Linked DNA regions of Homo sapiens: all the other regions are linked to region 2. The links are contacts of gene promoters, found by promoter capture Hi-C in blood cells and fetal thymus (Javierre and others, 2016). All regions are on one chromosome and are shown on one strand. The core of a region is centred on a gene start or on the middle of the fragment in contact, and the rest is flanking DNA. Distances in the headings are between cores, read along the strand shown.

Region 1 (4,576 bases), core at 813-3,312, 240 kb after region 2:
GGATTGTCTCGATCTCCTGACCTCGTGATCCGTCCGCCTCGGCTTCCCAAAGTGCTGGGATTACAGGCGTGAGCCACCGCGCCCTGCGGGTTTATGAATTTAACAGTAAATTTAGCTTAAACTGACTCAAGTCGAGAGCTTCCTGTTGGTGAAAATGAAGGTCTTAAAGGAGAGAATAATTTCTAAACTGAGGAGGGGACAGAAGGGCATTTCAAACTCCCAGATAAATCCTTAATTTTCTCTGCCTCATCATCTGGGACTGACCCGCCCTGGGGGGCTCCATTTCAGCAGTCACAGTTTGGCTTCCAAGCTTGGAAATATCATTTACCTTCTGACAGAGGGTTTTCCTTGTGAACTGTGCATGAAGCAGGCTGCTTATCTGAACTACTTCAAATGTTTGCTTTACTTTTCTTTTGATTCCTTTATAAAATATTGCTGCCGGCTGGGCGCGGTGGCTCACGCCTGTAATCCCAGCACTTTGGGAGGCCGAGGCGGGCGGATCACGAAGTCAGGAGTTCGAGACCAGCCTGACCAACATGGTGAAACCCCGTCTCTACTAAAAATACAAAAATTAGCCGGGCGTGGTGGCACACGCCTGTAATCCCAGCTACTCAGGAGGCCGAGGCAGGAGAATCGCTTGAACCCGGGAGATGGAGGTTGCAGTGAACTGAGATTGTGCCACTGAACTCCAGCTGGGCGACAGAGCGAGACTCCGTTTCAAAAAAAAAAAAACATATATATATATATATATATATATATATATATATATATATACACACACACACTTATATATGTGTTTGTATATATACACATATATGTGTATATATACAAACACATATATAAGTATATATATACACATATATGTATATATATGTGTATATATATAGCTGCCATATAATTCCAGCTTTTCCATGCACTTAGTTTTATTCTGTTGTTGGCTTGTTGTTTTCTTGAGTGAAAATGAGTAGACTGAGAGATAAAGTATGAAAAATCTTTGGCTATCCCTCATCCCAAATTTATAATCTCTGACGACATCAGGCCTCTCTCCTCTTCCAGTGTTGGCCTGACTAGACCTCAAGGCAGACAACCTCCCCACCTCAAACCCCCTCCCCCCACCCCCACCTCCCCTGAAAGAAGGGCCCACTGAGTACAGGAAGACAACAGTGTCAGCTCTGGAAAGCCTGAAACATATTCTGAAATACCAGTATCCCCAGGGTGGGGGCCAGGCTGCAGTGCAAGGAGGAAATCCGGCTGTGGCTAGAATCTATATTTTTCTTTTCTTTTCTTTTCTTTTTTTTTTTTTTCGAGACAGGGTGTTACTCTGTCACCTAGGCTGGAGTGCAGTGCGCTGATCATAGCTAACTGCAGCCTCTACCTTCAAGGTTCAAGCAATCCTCTTTACTCAGCCTGCTAAGTAGCTGGGACTATAGTTGCAGGGCCACCAGGCTGGGCTAATTTTTTTTTTTTTTCTTTTTTTTTTAGAGATGAGGTCTCACTACGTTGCTCAAGCTGGTCTTGAACTCCTGGCCTCAAGCAGTTCTCCTTTCCAGCCCTCCCCGAGTCCTGGGATTGTATAGGTGTGAGCCACATGTCGGGCCTAGAACCTTTCATTCAAGCTCCACTCAGCCAGGTGTTAAATTCTCCTCTCACTCCGCCTCCCAGAAGGCGGGGCCCGTGGCACTGTCCAATCAGGAGGGGCGGGGGGGTGTGGCTGTGCAAATTGTCCAATCAGGCGCGGCTCTGGGAGGAGGCCGCGAAGCTCCATAAAACTGCGAGGCGTTCCTTTCACCCGCCCACAGTGGGTGTCAGGTCTATGCTGCTCTGAGAAGCACCAGAGGTGGCTTCGCTGCAGCTTCTTTCCAGCTGTGACTTGCAATGAACACGAAAGACATAAGGAGAACCATAGACACCTCAGAAGCCAGGAAATGGTGAGTGCTGGGGGGATGTCCCGAGACTGTGGAGCAAGGTGCTGGACAGGAACCTGCTGTGACGGGACCCAGGCCTGTCCGGGGCGACTTCGGGACCGGTGGACTGGAGTCCCCCTAGCGCAGCCACCGCGCCCGATTTAAGAGAGAATTTTCAATGGCTAAACTGCACATGTACATCTCCTGACACAGAGCACCTGGTGACAACCATCAACTGTGAAGGTCAGGGAGCTGCTGAAGCAGAAGAGAGTCCATATTTCATTAGTTTTTTTTTTTTTTTTTGGAGACGGAGTCTCGCTCTGTCGCCCAGGCTGGAGTGCAGTGGCGCGATCTCAACTCACTGCAACCTCTGCCTCTGGGGTTCAAGCAATTCTCCTGTCTCAGCCTCCCGAGTAGCTGGGACTACAGGCGCACACTGCCACGCCCAGCTAATTTTTTGTATTTTAGTAGAGACAGAGTTTCACCGTGTTGCTCTTGTTGCCCAGGCTGGAGTGCAATGGTGTGATCTCAGCTCACGGCAACTTCCGCCTCCCAGGTTCAAGCGATTCTCCTGCCTCAGCCTCCTGAGTAGCTGGGATTACAGGCACGCGCCACCACGCCTGGCTAATTTTGTACTTTTAGAGACGAGGTTTCTCCATGTTGGTCAGGCTGGTCTCGAACTCCTAACCTTAGGTGATCCGCCCGCCTCGCCCTCCCAAAGTGCTGAGATTACAGGCGTGAGCCACCGCGCCCGACCTTCATTAGTGGTTTTATATAACAGTTTGTTAATGTCGAAATAATAGTTTGCTGGCTTCTTCATTTTATCAAAGGAATAATTATTTGCCAGTTTTAAAATCCACTTAAAACTGTCTTGAAATTTTTCTCTTCTACTTTACGGTAAACACAGGAGGAAAGCAGGGACTCTGCTGGATTCTCTTTCGAACACTGGGATTGAGGGTGTTTGCCTCGTGGAACTGAACAATGTGGGTGAAAAGCAGGTGGAAAACTTGCAGGGGGCAGCATAGCCTGAGGCCGGTGATCCACACTGAGACTAATCTGGAGCCTGCAAAGGGAGGGAAAGGGAGCTCCCCCGATTGCTTCCTGGGCAGCCTGCCTTCCCCTGTAGGTAGTCTCCAGCTGCTCCGAACAGCTCCAGCTCCAGCTCCAGGAGTGTGGATTCTGAGAAGCTGCAGAGCCCTGGAAAGCAGGAACTTCACAGGCAAATGCACGTGCGGGTTTCTCTCCTTTCTGAGGTTGTACCTCTAGTTTCCCAAGGTAGTTTTCCGGAAAACTTTTTGTTTTTTGAGACGGAGTCTTGCTCTGTCACCCAGGCTGGAGTGCAGTGGCGCGATCTCGGCTCACTGGAACCTCTACCTCCCGGGTTCAAGCGATTCTTGTGCCTCAGCCTCCCCAGAAGCTGGGATTATAGGCGCCCGGCTAATTTTTGTAATTTTAGTAGAGACGGGGTTTCGCCATCTTGGCCAGGCTGGTTTTGAACTCCTGACCTCAAGTGATCCGCCCGCCTCGGCCTCTCAAAGTGTTGGGGATTACAGGCATGAACCACTGTGCCCGGCCTTGATTTTTCTATGTATAGAGTTGCTGCAGTCAGGCTGTAATTTGTATATATGAAGAAAATATGTAAAGATCATATTTAGAGACTCATTTAGGTAGCGTTCCAGAGAAATGGTTTATGAGCTAGAGAGGTTGGAATTTCAAGGGGCCTAAATTGACCACAGGTGAGAGTTTTCTGCTGGTGTAAATTATTAAGGTATTGAAGGAGGGAGCGTTCCCACATTGTGATGCTGTGACAGGAGGGCATGTTGAGCTCCCAGAGTTAAATCCTTAGGTTTCCTGCCTCATCATCAGGGTCTAATGTACTCTGTGGCTCCACTTCAGCAGTCACTGACTCTTAAGCTTGGGAATATGTTCTACCTTCTGAATTCATCTTTTCCTTTTTAAATGTTCTGAAGTGCCCTGCTTATCTGAGCTAGTTCAAATTTTCGCTTTACTTCCCTTTTGATTTCTTTACAGATTACGGAAATAGAACTTGTTTTTCCATGTATTTAATAATTTTATTCACTTGTTGGCAGTTTTTTATTTTCTTGGGTGAAAATGAGTAGATTGATTTGGGAGGCGAAAGTGGGAGGTTCACTTGAGGCTAGGAGTTCAAGACCAGCCTGGACAACAAACGAAATCCCGTCTCTACAAAAAATTAAAGAATTTGCCGGGCTTGGTGGCATGTACCTGTAGTCTCTACTACTCAGGGGACTGAAGCGGAAGGTTCGCTTGAACCCAGGAGATGGAGGCTGCAGTGAGCTATGATCATGCCATTGCACTCTAACCTGGGTGGCAGAGCTAGACCCTGTCTCAAATAAATAAATAAAGTAATAAATAAGTAAATAAAGTAATAAATAAGTAAATAAAGTAAAAAATAGAGAGAGATAAAGAGGTATGGTATGAGAAAGCCTTGGGCACGCTTCCCATATCCTCATCCCAAATTTCCGATCCCTGGGAATATCACGCCCTTTCTTCTGTTCCAGTCCTGCCTGGAACTCCCTGCGCACACCTGTGACTCCTCATGCAAGAGGTAGATGAAGAAATGACCCACTGAGTACAGGAAGTATCTCCTTTGGTAAACCCGGATTAAGTTCTGCTAAAATGCAAGTATCTCC
Region 2 (4,194 bases), core at 1,350-3,849:
AGCAAATATGAGGAAGTTCAGGGAACAAGCTGACTTAATGATTAATGCTGAAGGTTCTGCAGCTTGGTTTAAGTTTTCTCCTCCCATCCTCCCTGATGAATTTGATAAAGTTTAAAGGGATGGTTTCACCAGGGGCCTTTTCCATTGACTGCAAGGAGGTCATCCGCCTGGTAAATCCTCAGTAGGCCAAGCCTCTTATGTGGCCAGAATGATCCAGTCCATAAGGAAATACCACCTGCTGTGTTTTACAATTAGACCATCCAAGGGGGTCAGGGTTTCCCCGGGGAGTCTGGTGGGCTTTTTATGGGTTTTTTTGTTTTTGATTTTTTTTTTTTTTGAGACAGTGTCTTGCTGAAGTTCAGTAACCTGATCACAGCTCACAGCAGCCTCAAACTTTGGGGCTCAAGTGATCCTCCTGCCTCAGCCTCCTGAGTAGCTGTGATTACAGGTACACACCACCTCTCCTGGCTAATTAAAAAATAGATTTATGGAGATGGGAGTGTCTCACTTCACTGCTCAGGGTGGTCTTCAACTTCGGGCTTCAAGTGATCCTGCCACTTTGGCCTCCCAAAATGTTGGGATTGCAGGCATGAGCCATGGCACCTGGCCTCCCAGGCTGTTGTTGAAAGGTCTTTGCAATCTCTAAGAGTTCTGCAGCAGTTTATTCCCTGACAGCGAGAGTCTCATCCTTTGATCCCATTTTGCAGCAGTAGTTGGGTGTTCACTTTTCTTTCCATAAGGAAGCAAGCTTGCCAGTGACCCTCATCCCCCTCCTCATCGATGACTTCTTTGTCATCAGAGCCTTCCTCTTCATAAATTCCCACGGAATCCAAGTTTTCACGTCCCGATTGGGCTTAGTTATGATAGCTACTGGCTCACACAAGCTGCAACAGCACCCCGTCCCATGGAAGCCACCCGACTCTCTCCTCCCTGAGTTTCCTGTCCTGGGAGCCCCCATCTCTGCTCTCCCGGGCTCCGGGCCCTAGAGCCGCACTGCTGCAGAGCCCAGTTCCCAGGGCAGCTCCCTCCACCTATCCACATCCATCTCCAGCTCTCCACCCTCTCTCCCACCAGCCTGGCCTGGAGGTGCTGCAGTGTCATTGACTGCGAGTCCCTCAGCTGCCACCTCCACCGCGATCTGGAAGTCTTTCAAATGCCCTTAAGTTATCTTAGATTTTTCCTCCCCCACTTTATACATAAGCATAGGAGGAGAGCAGGGACTCTGCTGGTGTCTTATTTACACAATGGGATTGAAGGTGTTTGTCTCGCGAAACTAATCGATGGGGTGAGAAGTAGCTGAATAACCTGCAGGGGGCAGCAGAGCCCAAGGCCAGTGATTCCACGTTGAGGACAGTCTCTGCAGCCTGCAAAGGGAGGGAAAGAGAGTTTCCCTGGGGGCTTCGCGGGCAGCCCACCCCCTTCTACAAGTGGCCTCCAGCTGCTCAGAGCAGCTCCAGAAAGGGTGTGGATTCCGAGAAGCTGCAGAGCCCTGGAAAGCAGAAGACCCATGTGCAGACGCATTTGTGGCGTCTCTGTCCTTTCTGGTGTTGTACCTCTGGAGCTGTCTTCTGGGCAGGGTTTGGGGTTTGACATGCATGGGGTCGTTGGGGTCAGAGTTATTTGTATAGATAAAGAAAATGTGTGGCCGGGCGCGGTGGCTCACGCCTGTAATCCCAGCACTTTGCGGGGCCGAGGCGGGCGGATCAAGAGGTCAGAAGATCGAGACCATCCTGGCTAACACGGTGAAACCCCGTCTCCACTGAAAATACAAAATATTAGCCGGGCGTGGTGGCGGGCGCCTTTAATCCCAGCTACTCCGGAGGCCGAGGTAAGAGAATGGCGTGAACTCGGGAGGCGGAGCTTGCAGTGAGTCGAGATCGCACCACTGCACTCCAGCCTGGGCTACAGAGCAAGACTCCGTCTCAAAAAAAAAAAAAAAAAAAGAAAGAAAGAAAAGAAAATGTGTGAAGATCAGGCTAGAGCTAGAGACAGAATTGTTTGGTGGCGTCACCTGGATAAAGGGTTCATGAAGTTGACAGTTTACTTAGGTCAGAAACAAAACCTGGTGAGAGTTTCCTGCTGGTGAAAATGAAGATCTGAAAGGAGGAAGCATTTTCACAAGGGGATGGGGGTGTGTGAGCAAGGCTTGGCCACGCCTCATCCCCAATTCCGGCCCGCTCGAGGACATATGCCTCTCCTCCTGGTGCAGTCGTGCCTGGCCTGGTCTCGGTTCCCCTGCTGCTCTGAGGCCAGCAGTTGGCTCCTATGGACACTGAGTCTGAAATTCCCTGCACACTCCTGTGACCCCGTGCAGAACGAAGGAGCGGGGACTGTCCCTTGAGTGAGGATGACGCTAGTGTTCTCTTCTATCAATAGCAAGTTTGGCTGAAATGCAAATATCCAATAACCAGAGTGCAGAAAGCAGCTCGCCCTTAGAGAAGCTGTGGCTAGAATCCGTCAGTCTGGCTCTGCGGGGCCTGATACCCAGGGCTTCAGCTGTCACTCAGATGTGGGGGGCGGGACCTAGTATTTCATCCAATCAGAGGTGCTGGGGCGTGGCACTGCCCACAGTTCATCCGGAAATGGAGGGGGTCGCTTTCCTCACCTTCCTCGCTGCGCGGGCGGCGGTTGGTAACCGGTCAGACCAGCCCGAGAGGGACCTGGTGCCTGTACCCAGGCTTCTGTCGCTCTGTCGCCTGCGCTATGCCCTGCTGTAGTCACAGGAGCTGTAGAGAGGACCCCGGTACATCTGAAAGCCGGGAAATGGTGCGTGTGCGGGACCAGATGTCGTGAGACGGGGGAGGGGCTGCCTGGAACAGGCGGGAACCGGCTGTGGCGGGACCCGGGCCTCCCTGTGGGCGACTCCGGGGTCTGGGACCGAGTCCTCCTTGAGCAGTTCGGCCCTCGGTCCCCTTGGCCGCTGGACGGGGCTGGGCCAGCAGCCAGGACCCGGGCGTCCTGTCCCGTCCCTGCGCGGCGACTGCGGCCGCGGCCCCTGCCCCGGAGCCCTCTCTGGGCAGTTCCGCTCCCGCAGCCCCGCGTCTCCCCAGATTGTGCGGAAGCAACGGGAGGGTCATGGAGGCATCCTGACTCGGGTGTGGGGTTCGTGCGTGGGAGGAGCAGTGGTCTGTGGGGCCCCCAGTCCCCACTTTCTCCTGTTAAAAATTAAACTGAGGTACGTTAACAATTAAAGAGTTCATTTGAGCAAACAGCGATTCACGAATGAGAAACACCCCGTCCTGGGTTGTGGTTTGTCAACGGAAAAAGCCAAACTATGTAAAATAAAGAAGTTTATTCAGAGCCGAATAGGAGAGACCTTGGCCGAGGGAAACACAACCCCAAGCAGCCTGGAGTAAGTGGTCCCGAGGCGGCTCAAGACAGTTTGGTTTTATTCATTTCAGAGAGACAGGAATTGCAGGGAAAATGATGAATCAGTGCCTGAAAGGTGTAAGTTCCATTGGCAGAAAGGGTGGGACCTGTGGAAGGGGGGTTAGAAGGCACAGGTGGTTGAGGGATTCTGTAGGTGGCAGCTGGTTGAGAGTGTGAAGTTTGTCTAAAGTTTGGAGGAGGTAGGAAGGAAGGGGGTCTGTTATCTGCCACTTGATTCCATCCCAGCCAGAAAACAGACCTGTTTCTCTAGATTTTATGAATTCTGAGGCGTGACTTTACTTTTGCCTTGCGTGGCCTTAGGTTTTGTTTGTAAGTTAGTATCTTCTTGCCACAAGCAGTCTGTTTTTCCATTCTATCTATTTTTACATGAATGTGTGGGAGAGGGTATAAGGAGACCTGTCTCACCTCCCATCCTGTCATACAGAGGCACTCAATTTTCAGGGTTTTTTGCGGGTCCTGTTGGCCAAGAGCCGGTCACTTCACTTAGCTGGAAAGGTACTTTGTTTTTATTTGAGACGGAGTCTCCTGTCGCCCAGACTGGAGTGCAATGGCCTGATCTCGGCTCACTGCAACCTCCACCTTCCGGGTTCAAGTGATTCTCCTGCCTCAGCCTCCTGAGTAGCTGGGATTGCAGGCATGCACCACTATGCCCTCCTAATTTTTGTATTTTTAGTAGAGATGGGGTTTCACCATGTTGGCCAGGCTGGTCTCGAACTCCTGACCTCAAGTGATCCACCCACCTCAGCCTCCCAAAGTGCTGGGATTACAGATGTGAGCCATCTCGCCGGGCCAGAGGTATGTTTT
Region 3 (4,539 bases), core at 1,463-3,962, 220 kb after region 2:
GCACCCTGCGGCCGAGGGGACGCAGGGACGAGCTGAGACAGAGGGATTCGGGTCCCAGATCCAGGAGGCGCGGCGAGGAGGCCCAGATCCCACCACAGCCGCTTCCGGCCGGTTCCACCCAGCCCCTCCCCCGTCTGGGGACTCCGGCCCCATACACTCACCATTTCCCGGCTTCTGGGTGTCCCGGTGTCCTCTCTAGGGCTCCCGTGAATAGTGCGGGTCACGGTGCAGGCGGCAGAGCGACAGAAGTTGTGGCAGAGGGACCCGGGGCCTCTCGGAGTAGGAAATCTGGTATCCCGACAACAACCTGCATAGCAACAAAAGTAGAAGCTGGAATGGGCCTCCTCCTTCCGGACGGACCGTTGGCCGGGCTCCGCCCCGGCGCTTCTGATTGGACAAGGTACAAGGCCCCGCCCCCTCAGAACTGAGTGACGGCAGAAGCCCTGGGTAACGAGCCCTGCAAAGCCGGACTGATCGGTTCTAGCCACAGCTTCTCTCTAAGGGACAACTCCTTCCCTGAGCCCTGGTCATTGGATATTTTCTTTTCAGCCAAATTTGCTCCTGATTTTTACACAGGGCACTATCTTCTTCCTCATTCAATGGGCTGTCAGTGCTTCTTCGTCCTGCACAGGGTTGTAAGTGTGTGCAGGGAATTCCAGACTGAGTGTCCAATGGAGCGATGTGCTGACCTCAGAGCAGGAAGGGGAGCCCAGATCAGGCCAGGCACGACTGCACCAAGAAGGAGAGGCAGTTGTCCTTCAGGGGCCCGGAATTAGGGATGAGACATGGCCAAGGCTTTCACACATCTCACCCCACCTCACAGTGTGGAAACTCTCCCTCCTTCCAGACCTTCATCTTCATCGGCAGAAAACTCTCACTTGGTGATTTTAAGCTTCTGACCTAAATAAACTGTCAACTGCATAAGCCCCTTCTCCAGGAGAGGTCCCAAACAGTTATTTCCCTGAACTTGATCTTTACGGATTTTCTTCAGATATGCAAATTACAGTCTGACCCCAGGGACTCTATGCATGTCAAACCCAAAACACTGCTCCCGAAAACCGCCCCAGATTCCAGATGTACAGCCGCAGAAAGGACAGAACTCCTGAAGTGCACCTGCACGTGGGTCTCCTGCTTTCCAGGGCGCTGCAGCATGTCAGAACCCACACTCTTTCTGGATCTGCTCTGAGCAGCTGCAAGCCACCTGCAGGGGAGGGCGGCTGCCCAGGAAGCACCCAGAACTCCACTTCACTCCTTGGCAGGATCCATACTAGCCTCAGCGTCCCGTCCCTGGCGTCGGTCTCTGCTGCCCCCTGCAGGTTATTCACCTGCTTCTCACATCATTCATCAGTTTCCATGAGACAAACATCCTCAATCCCACTGCGAGAATAACACACGAGCAAAGCTCTCCTCCAGTGTGTATGTATAAAGTCGAGGAGGAAGTGTCCAAGATTATTTAACTGCATGAAAGTGAGGCAGTAGTGGCTGGGCGCTGTGGCTCAAGCCTGTAATCCCAGCACTTTGGGAGGGCGAGGTGGCTGGATCACCTGAGATCAGGAGTTGGAGACCAGCGTGACCAACATGGTGAAATCCCGTCTCTACTAAAAATACAAAAATTAGCCGGGTGTGGTAGAGCCCACCTGTAATCCCAGCTACTCGGGAGACTGAGGCAGAAGAATCGTTTGTATCAAAGAGGCTGAGGTTGCAGAGAGCCGAGATTGCACCACTGCACTACAGCCTGGGCAATAGAGCGAGACTCTGTCTCAAAACAAAACAAAAAAACACACAAATGTTTAGTCATGTTACTTATTTCTGGTTTCCAGCCTGACTTTATAACATTCCTGACTCTGGGACTCTCCAGCTCTCCAGAATTATGCTTTGAAGAAAAAACAAGATAGAGCACAGGGCCCACATGTCTCTTATAAACTGTGAACCAAAATATTACATAGCAGCCATCTGTCAGAACTGCTTCCAGGCTATTGTCCTCAGTCACAATCCTAAATCAAACTCACTTTCTTTAACAAATTTAATTTTTTTTCTTCAGTCCACATGAGTAATCTAAAAGAAACACATAGACAGAAGAATCTCTTTATTATCATCTTTCTACCAAGTCAACATCAAGCATTAAAAAAATGTAAAACAAAGTGAAAACCATCCTTCTCTGATTCATCGTAGACCCAGAATCTGCCAGTCACCAACACCTATCTTCATTTTCTCTATTACGGCCAACTTTTATCTAAGAGATATCATAGGGGCATATTTAATAGAGTTTGTCATTTTGTGTTTTATGAATTTTAGAGGTTTTTTTGTTTTGTTTTGTTTTGAACTTTTATTTGCATTTTCTTTTGGCTGAATTTGTTTGTCTCTTAAGTTTATGTTTCTTCTGGGGTATCTTTTTCTTCCGTGCATCCTCCTTTTCTGCTTTTGGAACAAGGTGTTTCTTTTCACTAAGCATCATCTGGATGTGGCAGGGGAGTTTGTGGATGGGTTCATCTGCCCATGAGTTCTGTAAGTCAGGTGGTACATTATGGGTGCCTTTTCCCTGGATGTGCTCAATAACCAGGGAATCTACATCTATACCCTTAAGTTCAGCATAACTCTGCACTTGTAAGCAAATTTCAGTACCTTTTCGGGGCCACTGATGGTGAGTCCAGCCCCAATGTCTGTCTTGCGTACAGCGACCAACTCCACTTTCTAAGACTGAAATGGTACACATAATTTCTGTAAAAGAAAATATTTCAGATACTTGGTGGCTTTTCATATAGGCATACCTGTGATGGCCTGAGCACCTTCACAGTTTACAGTGAACATGAGGGTTTCATCCTTCTAACATGCACGACTTCGTGGGATTTTCTGGGTCATAGTGAATAATGTTCATAGATCAACTCAGGCCACACAAGAGGACAGGTTTTCTTTGGTCTTTAAAAGGAACTGATTAAAGAAAAAAAAAAAAAAAAGGTGGAAGCCAGGCACAGCAGCTGGTACCTGTAGTGACAGCTACTTGGCAGGCTGAGGTAGAAGGATTGTGAGCCCAGGAATATGAAGCTCTCATGCACTAAGATCACACTTGTGAATATCACTGCACTCCAGCCGGGTCCAAACAGCAAGACCAACTCTCTAAAAAAAAATTACATAATAAAATAATTTAAAAAAAAGTTTGTGGTTAGAAAAAAGTTTTTATTTAAGACATTCATTAAAGAAAAAAGTACTTTGAGAAGAGATTAGGGCCAGGCGTGGTGCCTATAATCCCAGCACTTTGGGAGCCCAAGGTGGCAGATCATGAGGTCAAGAGATTGAGACCATCCTGGCCAACATGGTGAAACCCCATCTCTACTAAAAATACAAAAATTAGCTGGGCGTGGTGGCGCATGCCTGTAGTCCCAGCTACTCAGGAGGCTGAGGCAGGAGAATCTCTTGAACCTGGGAGGCGGAGGTTGCAGTGAGCCAAGATTGCACCACTGCACTCCAGCCTGGCCACAGAACAAGACTCTGTCTCAAAAAAAAAAAAAGATATTAGGCCTGGCGCAGTAGCTCACACCTGTAAGCCCAGCATTTTGGGAGGCTGAGGCAGGTGGGTCACTTGAGGTCAGGAGTTCAAGACCAGCTTGGCCAACATGGAGAAACCCGTCTCTACTAAAAATACAAAAATGGCCGGGCGCAGTGGCTAACGCCTGTAATCCCAGCACTTTGGGAGGCCAAGGCAGGTGGATCACCTGAGGTCAGAAGTTCGAGACCAGCCTGGTCAACATGGTGAAACCCTGTCTCTACTAAAAATACAAAAATTAGCTGGGTGTGGGGGCACACGCCTATAGTCCCAGCTACTCAGGAGGCTGAGAAAGGAGAATCGCTTGAACCTGGGAGTTGGAGGCTGCAGTGAGCCGACAGCACACCACTGCACTCCAACCTGGAGCAAGACTCTGTATCAAAAAAAAAAAAAAAAAAAATTTGAAGGCTGGAAAAAGATTAGAAGGCCGGGTGCAGTGGCTCACACCTGTAATCCCAGCACTTTGGGAGACACTGGTGTGGGTCACTTGAGGTCAGGAGTTTAAGACCAGTCTGACCAACATGGTGAAATCCTGTCTCTACTAAAAATATAAAAAATTAGCCTAGCGTGGTGGTGGGTGCCCGTAATCCCAGCTACCCGGGAAGCCAGGAGGTGGAAGTTGCACTGAGCCGAGCTCACACCAACACACTCCAGCCTGGGCAACAGAGTGAGACTCTGTCTCAAAAAAAAAAAAAAAAAAAAAAAAAAAAAAAAAAAAGAGTTTAGAGGCTGGGCATGGTGGCTCATGCCTGTAAAGCCAGCTACTCGGGAGACTGAGGCAGAAGAATCGCTTGAACCCAGGAGGCAGAGGTTGCAGTGGGCTGAGAATGTGCAACTGCACTCCAGCCTGGGAGACAGAGCCCGACTCTGTCTCAAAAAAAAAAAAAAAGAAAACTCGTGAGAACGAATGGCATAAAATACGTAGTGTACCCGATAGCCAGCCATTTATTATAGGATATTTTTGAATAGGAACTTTAGCCTTTTGTTTTGATAAAGCT

Evidence for each region. Contacts are between HindIII fragments. The CHiCAGO score rates a contact against its expected background, and 5 or more counts as called.
Region 1: a fragment that was not itself captured here is called in contact with the fragment with the promoter of ZNF700 in region 2 in 2 of 17 cell types (neutrophils and naive CD8 T cells); the score reaches 7.9 in neutrophils.
Region 3: a contact is called between a fragment that was not itself captured here and the fragment with the promoter of ZNF700 in region 2, in 17 of 17 cell types (total CD8 T cells, naive CD8 T cells, non-activated CD4 T cells and 14 more). The highest score is 23.8, in total CD8 T cells.

The regions. Positions count from the first base shown.
Region 1 is chr19:12,158,218-12,162,793 of GRCh38, forward strand. No RefSeq gene overlaps it. Among named protein-coding and RNA genes, the nearest start is that of ZNF136, 2.6 kb to the right of the region's middle. The HindIII fragment of the contact is 3,508 bases long and covers 309-3,816 here.
Region 2 is chr19:11,922,508-11,926,701 of GRCh38, forward strand. ZNF700 (zinc finger protein 700) reads left to right here and starts at 2,600. Exons shown (of 4, transcript NM_144566.3): 1 at 2,600-2,766. The coding sequence starts at 2,704. It also overlaps a transcript of ZNF69 not described here. RefSeq lists enhancers at 506-1,296, 1,297-2,086, 2,243-2,815, 2,263-2,312, 2,363-2,472 and a silencer at 2,863-3,062. The HindIII fragment of the contact is 3,475 bases long and covers 747-4,194 here.
Region 3 is chr19:12,140,019-12,144,557 of GRCh38, forward strand. ZNF625-ZNF20 (ZNF625-ZNF20 readthrough (NMD candidate)) reads right to left here. Exons shown (of 8, transcript NR_037802.1): 4 at 2,623-2,697; 5 at 162-307. It overlaps ZNF20 (zinc finger protein 20), which reads right to left and starts at 332. Exons shown (of 4, transcript NM_021143.4): 1 at 162-332. The coding sequence starts at 164. It also overlaps the pseudogene RPL17P47. RefSeq lists a silencer at 1-118. The HindIII fragment of the contact is 3,645 bases long and covers 891-4,535 here.